Regions from separate parts of the Homo sapiens genome. Here regions 1, 2, 3 and 4 are each linked to region 5. Evidence: promoter capture Hi-C in human tissues and cell types (Jung and others, 2019). All regions are on one chromosome and are shown on one strand. Each heading gives the region's core, a stretch centred on a gene start or on the middle of the fragment in contact. The rest is flanking DNA. Distances are from core to core; before and after follow the strand shown.

Region 1 (2,700 bases), core at 134-2,633, 350 kb before region 5:
GCTATCTCCACCACACTATCAATCTTACTCACTCTCTCCTAGCCATTTCTAATCCCTCCTTAGCGAGCAATTGCTTGCTTTGCATTTCCCTTTCCTCCTGCGCCTACACAGCTGCCCCCGTCTTATATACAGGCTGGGAAACATCTCCTGTCTCCCTACACCTCCAAACTTCCTTTAATAGCCCTCACCTTTACCCTCCTGAAGAACTTCTTTACTTTCTAGACAGGTCCAGCAAGACCTCCCCAGACATTTCACATCAGCAAGCTGCTGCCCTCCTCCACACTTACTTTAAAAACCTTTCTCCTTATATCAACTCTACTCCCCCCATATTTGGACCCCTCACAACAAAAACTACTTTTCCTGTGGCTGCTCCTTTATGTATCTCTCAGCAAAGACCCACTGGAATTCCCCTTCTTGATGTTCCTTCACTCTTCATCTCCAAAGCCCAACTACATACATCACTGAAACAATTGGAGCCTTACAGCTCCATATTACAGATAAGCCTTCTATCAATACTGGCAAACTTAAAAACATTAGCAGTAATTATTGCTTAGGAAGACACCCTGTATTTCCCTCCATCCTTGGCTACCTTCCCCTTGCTCTTCAGACTCTCCTCCCAGGCCCTCTTCTTGTTTACTTATACCCAGCCCCATAAATAACAGTGAAAGGTTGCTCGTGGGCACTCAACGTTTTCTCATACACCATGAAAATCGAGCCTCTCCCTCTATGCAGTTACCCCATCAGTCCCCATTACAACCTCTGACGGCTGCCGCCCTAGCTGGATCCCTAGGAGTCTGGGTACAAGACACCCCTTTCAGCATTCCTTCTCATCTTTTTACTTTGCATTTCCAGTTTTGCCTGGCACAAGCTCTCTTCTTCCTCTGTGGATCCTCTACCTACATGTGGCTACCTGCTAATTGGACAGGCACATGCACACTAGTTTTCCTTACTCCCAAAATTCAATTTGCGAATGGGACCGAAGAGCTCCCTGTTCCCCTCATGACACTGAGATGACAAAAAAGAGTTATTCCACTAATATCCTTGCTTGTCAGTTTACGACTTTCTGCCTCCACTATTGCTCTCGATACTAGAATGGCAGGCATTTCAACCTCTATCACGACCTTCCGTAGCCTCTCTAATGACTTCTCTGCTAGCATCACAGAGATATCACAAACTTTATCAGTCCTTCAGGCCCAAGTTGACTCTTTAAGCTGCAGTTGTCCTCCAAAACTGCCGAGGCCTTGACTTACTCACTGCTGAAAAAGGAGGACTCTGTATATTTTTAAATGAAGATTGTTGTTTTTACCTAAATCGATCTGGCCTGGTACATGACAACATAAAAAAACTCAAGGATAGAGCCCCAAAACTCACCAACCAAGCAAGTAATTACGCTGAACCCCCTTGGGCACTCTCTAATTGGATGTCCTGGGTCCTCCCAATTCTTAGTCCTTTAATACCTATTTTTTTCTTTCTTTTATTCAAACCTTGTACCTTCCGTTTAGTTTCTCAATTAATCCAAAACCGTATCCAGGCCATCACCAATCATTCTATACGACAAATGCTCCTTCTAACAATCCCACAATATCACCCCTTACCACAAAATCCTCCTTCAACTTGACCTCTCCTACTCTAGGTTCCCAAGCCGCCCCTAATCCCGCTTGAAGCACCCCTGAGAAACATCGCCCATTATCTCTCCATGCCACCCCCCAAAAAATTTTCCCTGTCCCAACACTTCAACACTATTTTATGTTATTTTTCTTATTAATATAAGAAAACAGGAATGTCAGGCCTCTGAGCCCAAGCTAAGCCATCGTATCCCCTGTGACCTGCACAGATATGTCCAGATGGCCCGAAGAAAGTGAAGAATCACAAAAGAAGTGAAAATGGTCGGTTCCTGCCTTAACTGATGACATTCCACCACAAAAGAAGTGAAAATGGCCAGTCCCTGCCTTAACTGATGACATTACCTTGTGAAATTCCTTCTCCTGGCTCATCCTGGCTCAAAAGCTCCCCCATTGAGCACCTTGTGACCCCCACCCCTGCCAGCCAGAGAACAACCCCTTTGACTGTAATTTTCCACTACCTACCCAAATCCTATAAAATGGCCCCACCCCTATCTCCCTTTGCTGACTCTCTTTTTGGACTCAGCCCACCTGCACCCAGGTGATTAAAAAGCTTTAGTGCTCACACAAAGCCTGTTTGGTGGTCTTTTCACACAGACGTGCATGAAAATTTCCTCCACTAGCTTAGTAGTCAGAAAAGATTAAAAACCTAACTTAGTAGTATGTGCCAATAACTGAGTCTTGGCCGTTGAAGCGGCCATACCTCAACCACTCATATAGACTGCTAAGTGTTCAAACTGTGTTCAGATAAGGCAAGCGCCAACCTGTAACCAATCCAGCTGTTTCTGCACCTCACTGCCAATTTCTGTAGGTCACTTCCCTGTTTTTGTTTATAAATCTTTATACTCCAGCACAGCACACATAGCTGTTGTGCTGGAGTCTCTGTGAATCAGCTGTGATTCTGGGGGCTGCCCAATTCACAAATTGTTCATTGCTCATTAAGCTCTTTTAAATTTAATTCAGCTGAAGTTTTTCTTTTATCAGTGCTGTCTTTGAGAGGAGAGAATTGGCAGCACATGGGTCCAGAGTCTGTATCACTCACATCCTGATCCATTTTTCCTTTTTTTGTGTTTAATTT
Region 2 (2,700 bases), core at 97-2,596, 430 kb before region 5:
CTCTGCTGTTCCGGATGCCTTTCTTCACACAGTGAGGATGGTAACAGTGCCCATTAGCACTGATTTGTCGCCTGTAAATATTTATCCCAGTTATAACTGAATGAAATATGATTATCTTCATCTACTTTTAAAATTATATACTCTGCCATGTTTCAAAAATGATTTAAGACAAATAACAAATTTAAATGTATGGCTTAACTTTCTTTAACAGAGCTTGTGCATACATTATTTCCATCTTCCTCATAGCCCCATGAGGTCCTTGTGTATGTGTGCGTGTGTACATGATGTGTGTGTGTGCGTGTATATTTTAGGGTAGGATGACACATATCAACCCCAATTTTTAGAGAGAGAAATTGAAGCAAATGAAATTATATGACTTGGAACCAGTCAGCAACTGAGGTGGTCCTAAAACCAAAACATATCAACTCCAAAGTCAATGCTGTTTTCAATCTCTGTGCGAGCCTCTGCCTACTGTTTGAAAAATGTGAATCAAACAACATTCCACGAGTATATTCTAGTACACATCTTTGTTTTTAAAAAGTGGTAACATTTTTATCCTGTAAGTTAAGCATTGAAACATATCCCATCAGTGAAATGTCAAGTTATTAGCATTTCCAAACCAGAAAACAATGAAAAACACTTTTGCCAGTAGATTGCTGAGTTGGAAAGCAGTCTCCTCTGGTCCTATTCCCAGCAGTCCCACCAATCCCTACCAACCAGCCCAGTGAGAGAGGCAGAGCATCATGGATGCAACTTTTCTGCATGACCCCAAATACCTTGTATATTTGACAACTTGTGGTTATTCTCTGTGTTATAAGAAAAACTTCAGAAACTGAAGCTATCAACTACACGCCCTAGAAAGGGATGGTAGAGACCGGGATGACCGCATGGCCCCTGGAAACTCTTCAATGTTATACACACATTTCACAATCATGGCACCAAGGTGGCAACTTGGTGTGATGTGAAATCAATTATAACATTATTTTTAATGTAACTAGCATGCTGTTTGATTAATGGTGGTCACAACACGTTTAGCTACGAAATAACCAGCTGATAAACTGATCAAAAGGGAAGGATGTGATGGGAATTCTTGTGTCTTAAAGTCAATATTAACCTAACTCATGGAAATGACTACTCAACCTAATACTAAACATCTCTGGTTTTTGCCACTAATTGGTAAAACTTACAATGTTATGACTCACTTGAAAAGCACATCTTTAAGTAAAATTCAAAAGCAGAATTCTTTTTGAAGATGCAACAAATTTAAAACTTAGCAGCATCTAGAAGACTCAATCAAATGAAAATTTTAAACCTCTGATGATTGAATAATTTCTTCAATTCTCAGGTGTTTTCAAAGACAGCAGAATTCCCTGAGAATAAAACCCTTAATGTTTAGCTCAGTGTATAAGGTACCAGGCATGATACCTCCAAGAACACACCACCAAGAGCTATAGAATGCATGCTTTTAATGGCAAGGAGGAGAAAGGTGGAAATCTAATTAAGTGCTAAGCTAAATCCAAAGTCTAGATCAATCATGACTTTGGGATCATGAAACATTTGTAATTTGTAAATTCATTTTATGGTATATTTAACTATCATTTGAGTCCTACTGAGCTAATAATCCTATTTCAAATTATACTCTAATTCACTATCTTTTTATTTCTTCATTTTTTTTTTTTTGAGACAGGGTGCACAGGCTGGAGTGGAGTGGCACAATCACAGCTCACTGCAGCCGCCATCTCCCATGCTTGAGCGATCCTCCCACTTTGCCCTCCCCAGTAGCTGGGACTATGGTGCGCGCCACCACGCCTGGCTAATTTTTAATTTTTTTATAGAGACTGGGGCCTCACTATGTTACCCAGGCTGGTCTCGAATTCCTGGGCTCAAGTGATCCTCCTGCCTCAGCTTCCCAAGTGCTGGGATTACAGGCGTGAGCCACCACACCCAGCCCACTATCTTTTATTAAAGATAACTCGTACAAATTAGGAGAAGATACACTTTTATGATTTTAGTATGTGGTCATAAAATTGGCATTTTATCATGTGATCTAACAGATTTTTGTAATAAAAGAAGAATAATTAGATTCAGAACTAGCCATTCTTCTTTGCTACCAAAAGGGCAAATAACTGTCATTTGGAAACTATTTCTTAGAATTTCCATAATCCTTATTACAACTGAATTTGAATTATTTAAAGGAAGTGTGGTATACTAAAAATGAACATGGCTTTGTAAGTCTAAAGGGCCTAGCATCAATTCCTGAATCTATCACTTAGTAGATATTTGACTTTAGGCAAGTCATTTAGCTTCTCTGGATCTCAATTACCTAATCTATAATATGGGGCCAACAACATCTATCACGCATGTGTTGATGTAACAATTGGATCAGATAACAATGTGTGTGAGCCACTTGGCACAGTGCCTGGCACATGATAGATGTTAAATAGATAGTAGCTATAATTACTATTATGACTGCAAACTCCTGGAGAACAAGCGGTGTTTTATTTATTCACTTTTGACCTCCAGTGCCAAGCACAGTGTCTGGCATCCAGCAGACACTTAGTAAATAGTTGCTGAATGAATGAATGCATGAATGAATGAACAATGAAGATGATGATGTTCCAAACTACCAGTCCAGTATTTAAGATCTTTATCTGTTTTTTCAGGATCATCAAAAGATGGTCAAATGAAAATTATTAAATA
Region 3 (2,700 bases), core at 115-2,614, 310 kb before region 5:
CAAGTACATGTGATTTAAAGCACAAAAGAAATAAAAGGGGGAAATATTTGAAGAGACAATGGCTAAAAATTTTCAAGTCTGATGAAAACAACCCCCAAATCCAAGAAGCTCAATGAATCCTAGGCAAGATAAAAGCAAAGAAAATAACACCAAAATTCATTATAAACAAATTGATGAAAACCAATAAGAAGAAAATCTTAAAAATAGCCAGGAGGGAAAAAAAGACACATTACTTACAGGGGAACAAAGATAAGAATGATCGCTGATTTCTCGTCAGAAACAATGCAAGCCAGAAGACAATGGAACGACATCTTTAATAGGCTGAAAGAAAAAAACTGTCAACCTAGAATTCTATACCCAGTGAAATTATCCTTCAAAAATGAGTATGAAATAAAGACTATTTGAAGACAAACACAAAATAAGAGAATTCATTTCCAGCTGAGCTCCACTACAAGAAATGTTAAAGGAAGTTTTTCGGGCTAAAGGAAAATGATACCAGATAGTAGCTCAAATTTACACAAAGGCATAAAGAGTGTTGGACATGGTAAGTATGCTGAATAACTACAGAAGGCTTTTTTACTCATATTAATATGTTGTTAAAAGATGGTTGATTATTTAAAACAAAAAATAATTATAATGAATAGAGGCTAATAATATATATAGAAGTAAGATGTTTGGTAACAATAACAAAAAGGATAGGAGGGGTAAAATTAAAATACAAAAAGGCCTTACATTATATGTAAACTGATATAATTTGAGGTAGACTGTGAAGTTAAAAGTGCATATTATAAACCCAAGAGCAATTTTTTAAAGATGGTGTAGCTAACAGTACAATACAGAAATAAAATATAACACTAAAAATAATTAATTCAAAAAAGGCAAGATATCAAAAAGAAAAAAAAGGAACAGATGGGACAAATATAAAACAAGTGTAACATGATAGGCTTCAGTCATACAAGTGTATCATGATAGGCTTCAATTCATACCAGAAATTACATTAAATGCCAATGGTCTAAACAATAATTTTACTAATGTAAATGGTCTAAAAGGCAAAGATTGTGAAATAGGATTTGAGTTTTTTAAAACCCATGACCCAATTGTATGCTGCCTGTGAAAAACATAGCTAAATTATAAAGGCTCAGATAAGCTAGAAGTAAACAGAAAAAGTTATACTATGCAATTATGGCATAATTGTTATACCATAATTGAAATTATAAGAAAGCTTGAGTGTCTATATTAATATCAGAGAAATAGATTTCAGAACAAAGAATATTACCAGAAAAACCAAGGCAATTTTACAATGATGAAAGGGTCAATTAACCTAGAAAACATAAAAACCATAAATATTTGTACCCTTAGTAAGGTGAGAGAATTGAAAGAAGCATAACTGAAGTTGTAAATTTCCATAATCCTCTCTCAGTAACTGATAAAACAAGCAGACAGAAAATCAGCAAATATATAAGACTTGAAAACACTCTCAAACAACTTAACCTATTTTATAATGTTAGAAATCTCCACTCAACCACTGTGGAATACACATTGTTTTAAAGTACACGTGCAACATTTAACAAGATAGGTATTCCAGTCCATAAAATAAGTCTCAAAAATTTAGATGGAGCTACATCATACAGCATATTCTCTAGCCACAATAGAATTAAACTAGAAACCAATAACACAAAAGTATCTGAAAAATTACCAAATATTTACACATTAAAAAGCACACTTCTAAACAATTCATGAATGAAAGAAGAAACTTTAGAAAATATCCTGCACTGAAATACAATAAAAGCATAACATATATAATGAATTTCTGGGAAGCAACTAAAGCAATGATTAAATGGAAATTTATAGCTAAAAATTATTATATGAGAAAATATTAAAGATCTGAAATAAAAAGTTTATGCATCTCCCTTAAGAAGACAGAAAAAGAACAGAACTCAGTAGGTGGAAGAAAACAATAAAGAAACAGAAATCAATGAAATTGAAATCAGAAAATCCATAGATAAAATCAATAAAATCAAAAACTGGTTCTTTGAAAAGTCCCAAAAACTTGATAGGCCCCAGCATCCTGATGGACAAAAAAAAAATTGAAAATTCATGAATTACCAATATCAGGAATGAAAGGTAGAACATCACTACAGATCCTACAGACATGCTAATAAATTTGAAAACTTGGATGAGATGCTCACATTCCTTAAAAGACACAAATAACTCACTATAACTCAATAAAAGTAAAAAAAACCCATAACTATTAAAATTACATTCACAACATAAAACATTTCCCTCAAAGAAACCCCAAGTCCATATGGCTTCACCAGTAAATTCTATTAATCATTGAAAGAATAAATAATACAAATCTTACATAAACTCTTTCAGAAATTAGAAGAGAAAAAAACATTTTCCAACTCATTTTATGAGGTCAGTATTACTCTGTAAATGGAACCAGATGAAGACATCATAATTAAATAAAACAAAACAATATCTCTCATAAATGTAGGAACCTGAACACTTAACTTAGAAAATTAAATCTAGCAATATAATACAGCATGACAAGATGAGTTCATCCCAAGAATGCAAGATTGCATTTCACACACACACACACACACACAGACACACACACACACACACTCACATATACATATGGACCAAATGGAAATTCTAGAAGTGAAAAATATAACAGGGGGGCAGAATTTGGGGAAT
Region 4 (2,700 bases), core at 200-2,699, 290 kb before region 5:
TTCTTTATAGCAGTGTAAAAACGGACTAATACACCAATACACAGACTACAAAAGCAAGATGCTTTCCCAAAGCCCCTTGCAGCTAGAGATGGCCACGTGACTCAGTTCTGGACAGTAAGAATGAAGAGAAAATCTGCTGGGGAGCTTCTGAGACATACTTTCTCCCTCTGATAAAACGAAAGAGGTACACCAGGAGACTTTTCTCTTAATGACTCTGCTTGATCCTATTACCTGTTTTGTAGTTATACGAGGTTATAATAACCTCCACAGTGGCAGCTTTCTTGCAAACATGAGGGGAATTCCAAGATCTCAGCCCCCTGATATTGTGGAGCTATCTTCAGGACTTCCTATTAAGTAAACAACCAATGTGTTTATACTTTAAAGCCTCTGTCAGCCAAAGACATCTTAACAGATGCAACCTCTCTGTCTCTTTGGAGAGCTCATCCTCTTCCACTGGGCCATTATCTGTTGAAGTTTCTGAAGGCCTAATCACAGAACCACTCCACATTTCTTTCATTCTCTGCTCTCCCCTAAGCAATCTCACACTCACACACAACTTCAGCAGCCATCTATATGCAATTCAGTGAAGGTCACTGGACACTTGTGTGTGGGCTCAAAGTTCATTATCTCTAGTCCAAAGCTCTGTTCTGAGCTCCAGACCCATAATACAACTACCTAATTACCAGCTCCTATTAGGTGTCTCAAAGATACTGTGAACACAACACGTCTGAAACAGATCTCAAGATCTTCCCTCAGAGGCCTGATCTTCTTCTTCCAATGCCTCCAGTATCAGTGAGTAGAACCACTGTTACAGTTTGCATCTGTGTCCCCACCAAATCTCATGTTCAGTTGTAATCCCCAGTGTTGGAGGTGGGGCCTGGCAGAAGGTGATTGGATCATGGGGGTGGGTCCTTCATGAATGGTTTAGCACCATCCCTTTGGTGCTGTTCTCATGATAGAGTTCTCACAAGATCTGGTTGTTTAAAAGTGTGTGGCACCATGCCTGTAATCCCAGCACTGTGGGAGGCCGAGGCGGGTGGATCAAAACTCCTGAGGTCAGGAGTTCAAGACCAGCCTGGCCAACATGGTGAAACCCCATCTCTACTACAAATACAAAAAATTAGCTGGGTGTGGTGGTGGGTGCCTGTAATCCCAGCTACTTGGGAGGCTGAGGCAGGAGAATTGCTTGAACCTGGGAGGCGGAAGTTGCAGTGAGCTGAGATTGTGCCACTGCACTCCAGCCTGGGCAACAAGAGCAAAACTCTATCTCAAAAAAAAAAAAAAAAAAATATATATATATATATATATATATATATGTGGCACTTCCCCTTCTCTCTCTTCCTCCTGCTCCAGCCATGTAAGACGTGCTTCCCCTTTGCCTTCTACCATGATTATGAGTTTTCTGAGGCCTCCCTTAGAGACAGGAGCCACTATGCTTCCTGTACAGCCTACAGAACCATGACTCAATGACACTTCTTTTCTTTATAAATTACCCAGTCTCAGGTATTTCTTTATAGCAGTGCAACAACAAACTAATATGACCACCATGCATCCAGTTAGTGCATCCAGAAACCCACTCTAGCCAATATGTTACCAAGTCCTATCAATTTTACTTCCTAAATAGCTTTCAGAAAGATCTGCTTATTCTTCAGTTTCAATTGTCCCTGCCTTTGAAGTGCTTACGCAAATGCAATGACCTCCTTCCAGGTCAATCTATATCCAACCTGGCTTCTTCTCAATCCGTTCTCAACTGCAGCAGGGGTGACAGACACCACAGCCCACTCAAAGCCGTTCAGCAGCTTCCCATCAGATTTGGAATAAACGCAGGCCTCCCTAACATAGCTCACAACACCCTGCATGTTCCAGCCCATGGAACTCTTAAGTCTAGTGTCACACCAGGGAGCCCTCACTCTGAGTTCCAGCTACACTGATCCTTCAGTCTCAGCTGTTTGCCAGACTCCCCCGTGACACATGAGATTCCTCTTCCTGAACCGCCCCCCCTTGTAGGCCTTGTTCACATTATTCATCCTGCAGTTCTCAAACCAAAGGTTACTTCCTCAAAGAAGCCCTCCTGACTTCCTCAATAAAAGCAAAATTTCCTTTTATAACATCTTATAGTATAACATACTTGAAGCACTTGTCACAAGCAAAATTTTACACTTGATTTTATGATTATTTGATTGTCTTCTCGCCTCTCAACCCGACCATACGATAAGCTTCCTGAGATGAGGATGGGGTCAGTCCCATGTCACTAACCATGGAGCCCCCAGTGCCCAGTACATGGTGGATACTCAGTGACTACTGATTGAATGGTTGCTCTAGAATTGGAAATTTGGTCTTAAGCCATCACTGAATTCTCAAGTGCAGATGTTCCAAGACACTTTCTTGTACATAGTGTCTGCTGATCTCCACAGGTCTGCTATATGAACGTTGTTCAGAGCCATCACTGACCCATGAACATACCTGGACAGTTCCTTTGTTAAAACAGCTTCCCCTCCCAGAATGCCCCATTTACCTTATCAATAAAAACTCTGTCCAGCCAGGCATGGTGGCTCATGCCTGTAATCCCAGCACTTTGGGAGGCCAAGACAGGCGGATCACTTGAGGTCAGGAGTTCGAGGCCAGTCTGGCAAACATGATGAAATCCCATCTCTACTAAAAATACAAAAATTAGCCGGGCATGGTGGCATGTGCCTGTAG
Region 5 (2,700 bases), core at 86-2,585:
TTGTGCAAATTTCCGTATTTTTTTTTTTACCACAAAGAAAATATTAAGGAATCCATTTTATAAAGGTAACTACACTTCAAAAATAGTTTACATATAGACATAACTTTTTTCTTTTTTTTTTTTTTAAGTAAAGCAGGGGAAAAATTGTTTTAGTGGTGACCAAAGGTTTTAAAATACCTGGGGCTATGTCTGGATACCAGGTTTATTCAACAATCTAGCACTTTGCAGTGTAAACTAACCTTGGTCAACAACGAGAACTGGTATTATGATCTCAGTTCATACCACATAATGAATACAAGTCTCTCCCCTCATCTCCCCAGTGTTCCAATCCACCCCTCTTCCTAGGTAACCCTTCTTCCTACCAATTCTCATCCTTTGTCAGTCTTCTTCCTACCCATCCTTTTCCATTTTTGTACCTCGAAGTGTAGGGTGAGTCACTAAACACCACATCACACCCCCTCAAACACTTGCTCACTCACAACGTCTTCCAAATGCCAAACAGATCCTTTTCTCCTCTCTCCCCTCCCTTGCCAGAGCCACTTGCTGTTCTGTTTCCGGTCTATTTCCAGGGGAGGGGGGCAGACTGCAGATAGACATGGGTACTTGCTTCATTTTGCCAAAAAAAGAAAGAAAGAAAAAGTACTAGCTAGCACTTGTCCAACTAAATTGCAGAGGAACTAGCTGTCAAGGAGCTCACCGCAAATCCCTATGGATTTGAAAATCTCTTTAACCTGACTCTCCCATTCGGTCCCTAATAAATAAATAAATAAATAATCTTAGGATGGGAAAATCAGGGACAAAGATGTCTGGATCTGAGAGGTCGCGGGGTGGTTTCGTGAAAAGCAGTGGTGCACCAAGAAGAGGCTGGAGAGGACGGACAGAGCAGCTGCTCCAGGGCCCTTCCTGGCGGGCCGGACAGAGTTGGAGACAGGGGAGAGGGGGGCCCCTGCTGGACACAGGCTGAAGGGGGCCCAGGAGGTTGGGGTTAAAAGGGAAGGGTGAGCTTGGGGTGAGGAAGCGGCAGACTAACGGCGGCCCCGGACCACCACTGGGGAGACGACTGCGGCAAGGCGGGAATAGGGACAGCCGGGCCGGGAAGGGGAGGTTCGGCGGGAGCCGGGGGAGAGGAGGCCCGGGCCGCGCGCCCACCTGAGAGTAGGAGCACTTCTCGGAGTCGCTGCCGCCCAGGACAGCGCACGCCTCATTCTCCAGCTCCTCGTCCTCCTCAAGGACGTCGACCAACGATACCACGGGCTCCAGCTCCGACTGCCGCCCAGCGGCGCCCTCGGCTCCGGCCATCCTCAACTGTCAGCCGAACAGCGGCTCGGCCCCGGCGGAGGCGGGAAAAGCGGCCGTGAGGGGCGTAGCCGGAGGAGGTGGGGCCCGAGTGCCAGGAACCAATGACAAGGAAAAAAAGCGAAGGAAGGGGGAGGAGCGACTTCCGACAAACGGATGTCACTCCTCTCCCTTCTCCCGCCTGCGCCGGACGCGGGCTGATTTCCGCCTCCGGGTGGCGCTTCCCGGTGTCGTGTTCTGGAAGCTTAGCGGTCACCATGGAGCTGCTGGGAGAGTACGTCGGGCAGGAAGGGAAGCCGCAGAAGCTGCGGGTGTCCTGTGAGGCGCCGGGTGACGGCGACCCTTTCCAGGGCCTGTTGTCTGGCGTGGCCCAGATGAAGGACATGGTAACGGAATTATTCGACCCTCTGGTACAGGGGGAAGTGCAGCACCGGGTGGCGGCGGCTCCAGACGAGGACTTGGACGGTGAGCTCTGAGACGGTGCTGCAGTGACCGGAGGACGGGGCGGGCGCCCAGGGGAAATTGGCTTGGGGAGCCCGTGTAGAGTGGCAGACTTGGACAAAGTGAGCCTCGAGGAAAGAAGAATTGCATCTAAAAATTTTTGGCGGGCTAGGCGAAGTGGGGCTCACGCCTGTAATCCCAGCACTTTGGGAGGGCGAGGCAGGAGGATCACTTGAGGTCAGGAGTTCCAGAACAGCCAGGGCAACATATCGAGACCCCGTTTCTATTATTATTTTTAAAATAATTTAAAAAATAAAAATTGTTGGCATTTATCACTATATTTATTTGGGCTGCTTCTACTCAAGCGTTTCCACAACTCATCGCTATTTCGTTTATTTCACAAAAAAACGTGTCGAATGCCTACTATTATGTGCCAAACCCTGAGCTGAGCCCTGGAGGAAGAATGAGGTGAATGCGACTCAGTTCCTGCCCTTGTGAAACACAAGGGGACTAGACAGGCAGACACTCTTATTAAAAGTGGAAGTGGTCCGGGCTGGTGGCTCACGCCTGTAATCCCTGCACTTTGGGAGACCGAGGCAGGCAGATCACGAGGTCAGGAGTTCGAGACAAGCCTGGCCAATATGGTGAAACCCTGTCTCTACTAAAAATACAAAAATTAGCTGGGCGTGGTGGCATGCTCCTGTAGTCCCAGCTACTCTACTCGGGAGGCTGAGGCAGAAGAATCGCTTGAACCCTGGAGGCAGAGGGTGCAGTGAGCCGAGATCGCGCCACTGCACTCTATCGTGGGCGACAGAGCGAGACTCCGTCTCAAAAAAAAAGAAAAAAAAAGTGAAAGTGGTTCTGTGGTCCTCTGTAACTGTTGCAAACCCAGACACCCTAGGAAGTCTTCAGAAAGGATAAGACTTTTGAGCTGGGTGTTGAATAAAAAGGAGTTTTATCAGG

What was found. Contacts are between HindIII fragments. The study calls those that stand out against the background at their distance.
Region 1: a contact is called between a fragment that was not itself captured here and the fragment with the promoter of UBR7 in region 5, in 2 of the 25 tissues and cell types used here (dorsolateral prefrontal cortex and lymphoblastoid cells).
Region 2: a contact is called between a fragment that was not itself captured here and the fragment with the promoter of UBR7 in region 5, in 1 of the 25 tissues and cell types used here (dorsolateral prefrontal cortex).
Region 3: a contact is called between a fragment that was not itself captured here and the fragment with the promoter of UBR7 in region 5, in 2 of the 25 tissues and cell types used here (hippocampus and mesendoderm cells).
Region 4: a fragment that was not itself captured here is called in contact with the fragment with the promoter of UBR7 in region 5 in 2 of the 25 tissues and cell types used here (H1 embryonic stem cells and hippocampus).

What each region holds. Positions count from the first base shown.
Region 1 is chr14:93,558,921-93,561,620 of GRCh38, reverse strand. All of the region lies in intron 14 of UNC79 (unc-79 subunit of NALCN channel complex), which reads right to left. Among named protein-coding and RNA genes, the nearest start is that of UNC79, 130 kb to the right of the region's middle. RefSeq lists an enhancer at 1,686-2,188. The HindIII fragment of the contact is 3,598 bases long and covers 1-2,700 here.
Region 2 is chr14:93,631,668-93,634,367 of GRCh38, reverse strand. The region is part of intron 33 of UNC79 (unc-79 subunit of NALCN channel complex); the gene reads right to left. Among named protein-coding and RNA genes, the nearest start is that of PRIMA1, 160 kb to the left of the region's middle. The HindIII fragment of the contact is 6,956 bases long and covers 1-2,700 here.
Region 3 is chr14:93,517,829-93,520,528 of GRCh38, reverse strand. All of the region lies in intron 7 of UNC79 (unc-79 subunit of NALCN channel complex), which reads right to left. Among named protein-coding and RNA genes, the nearest start is that of UNC79, 88 kb to the right of the region's middle. The HindIII fragment of the contact is 4,844 bases long and covers 1-2,700 here.
Region 4 is chr14:93,492,491-93,495,190 of GRCh38, reverse strand. The region is part of intron 5 of UNC79 (unc-79 subunit of NALCN channel complex); the gene reads right to left. Among named protein-coding and RNA genes, the nearest start is that of UNC79, 63 kb to the right of the region's middle. The HindIII fragment of the contact is 4,592 bases long and covers 1-2,700 here.
Region 5 is chr14:93,205,891-93,208,590 of GRCh38, reverse strand. It overlaps UBR7 (ubiquitin protein ligase E3 component n-recognin 7), which reads right to left and starts at 1,335. Exons shown (of 11, transcript NM_175748.4): 1 at 1,150-1,335. The coding sequence starts at 1,299. GON7 (GON7 subunit of KEOPS complex) reads left to right here and starts at 1,526. Exons shown (of 2, transcript NM_032490.5): 1 at 1,526-1,761. The coding sequence starts at 1,554. RefSeq lists an enhancer at 1,430-2,289. The HindIII fragment of the contact is 21,573 bases long and covers 1-2,700 here.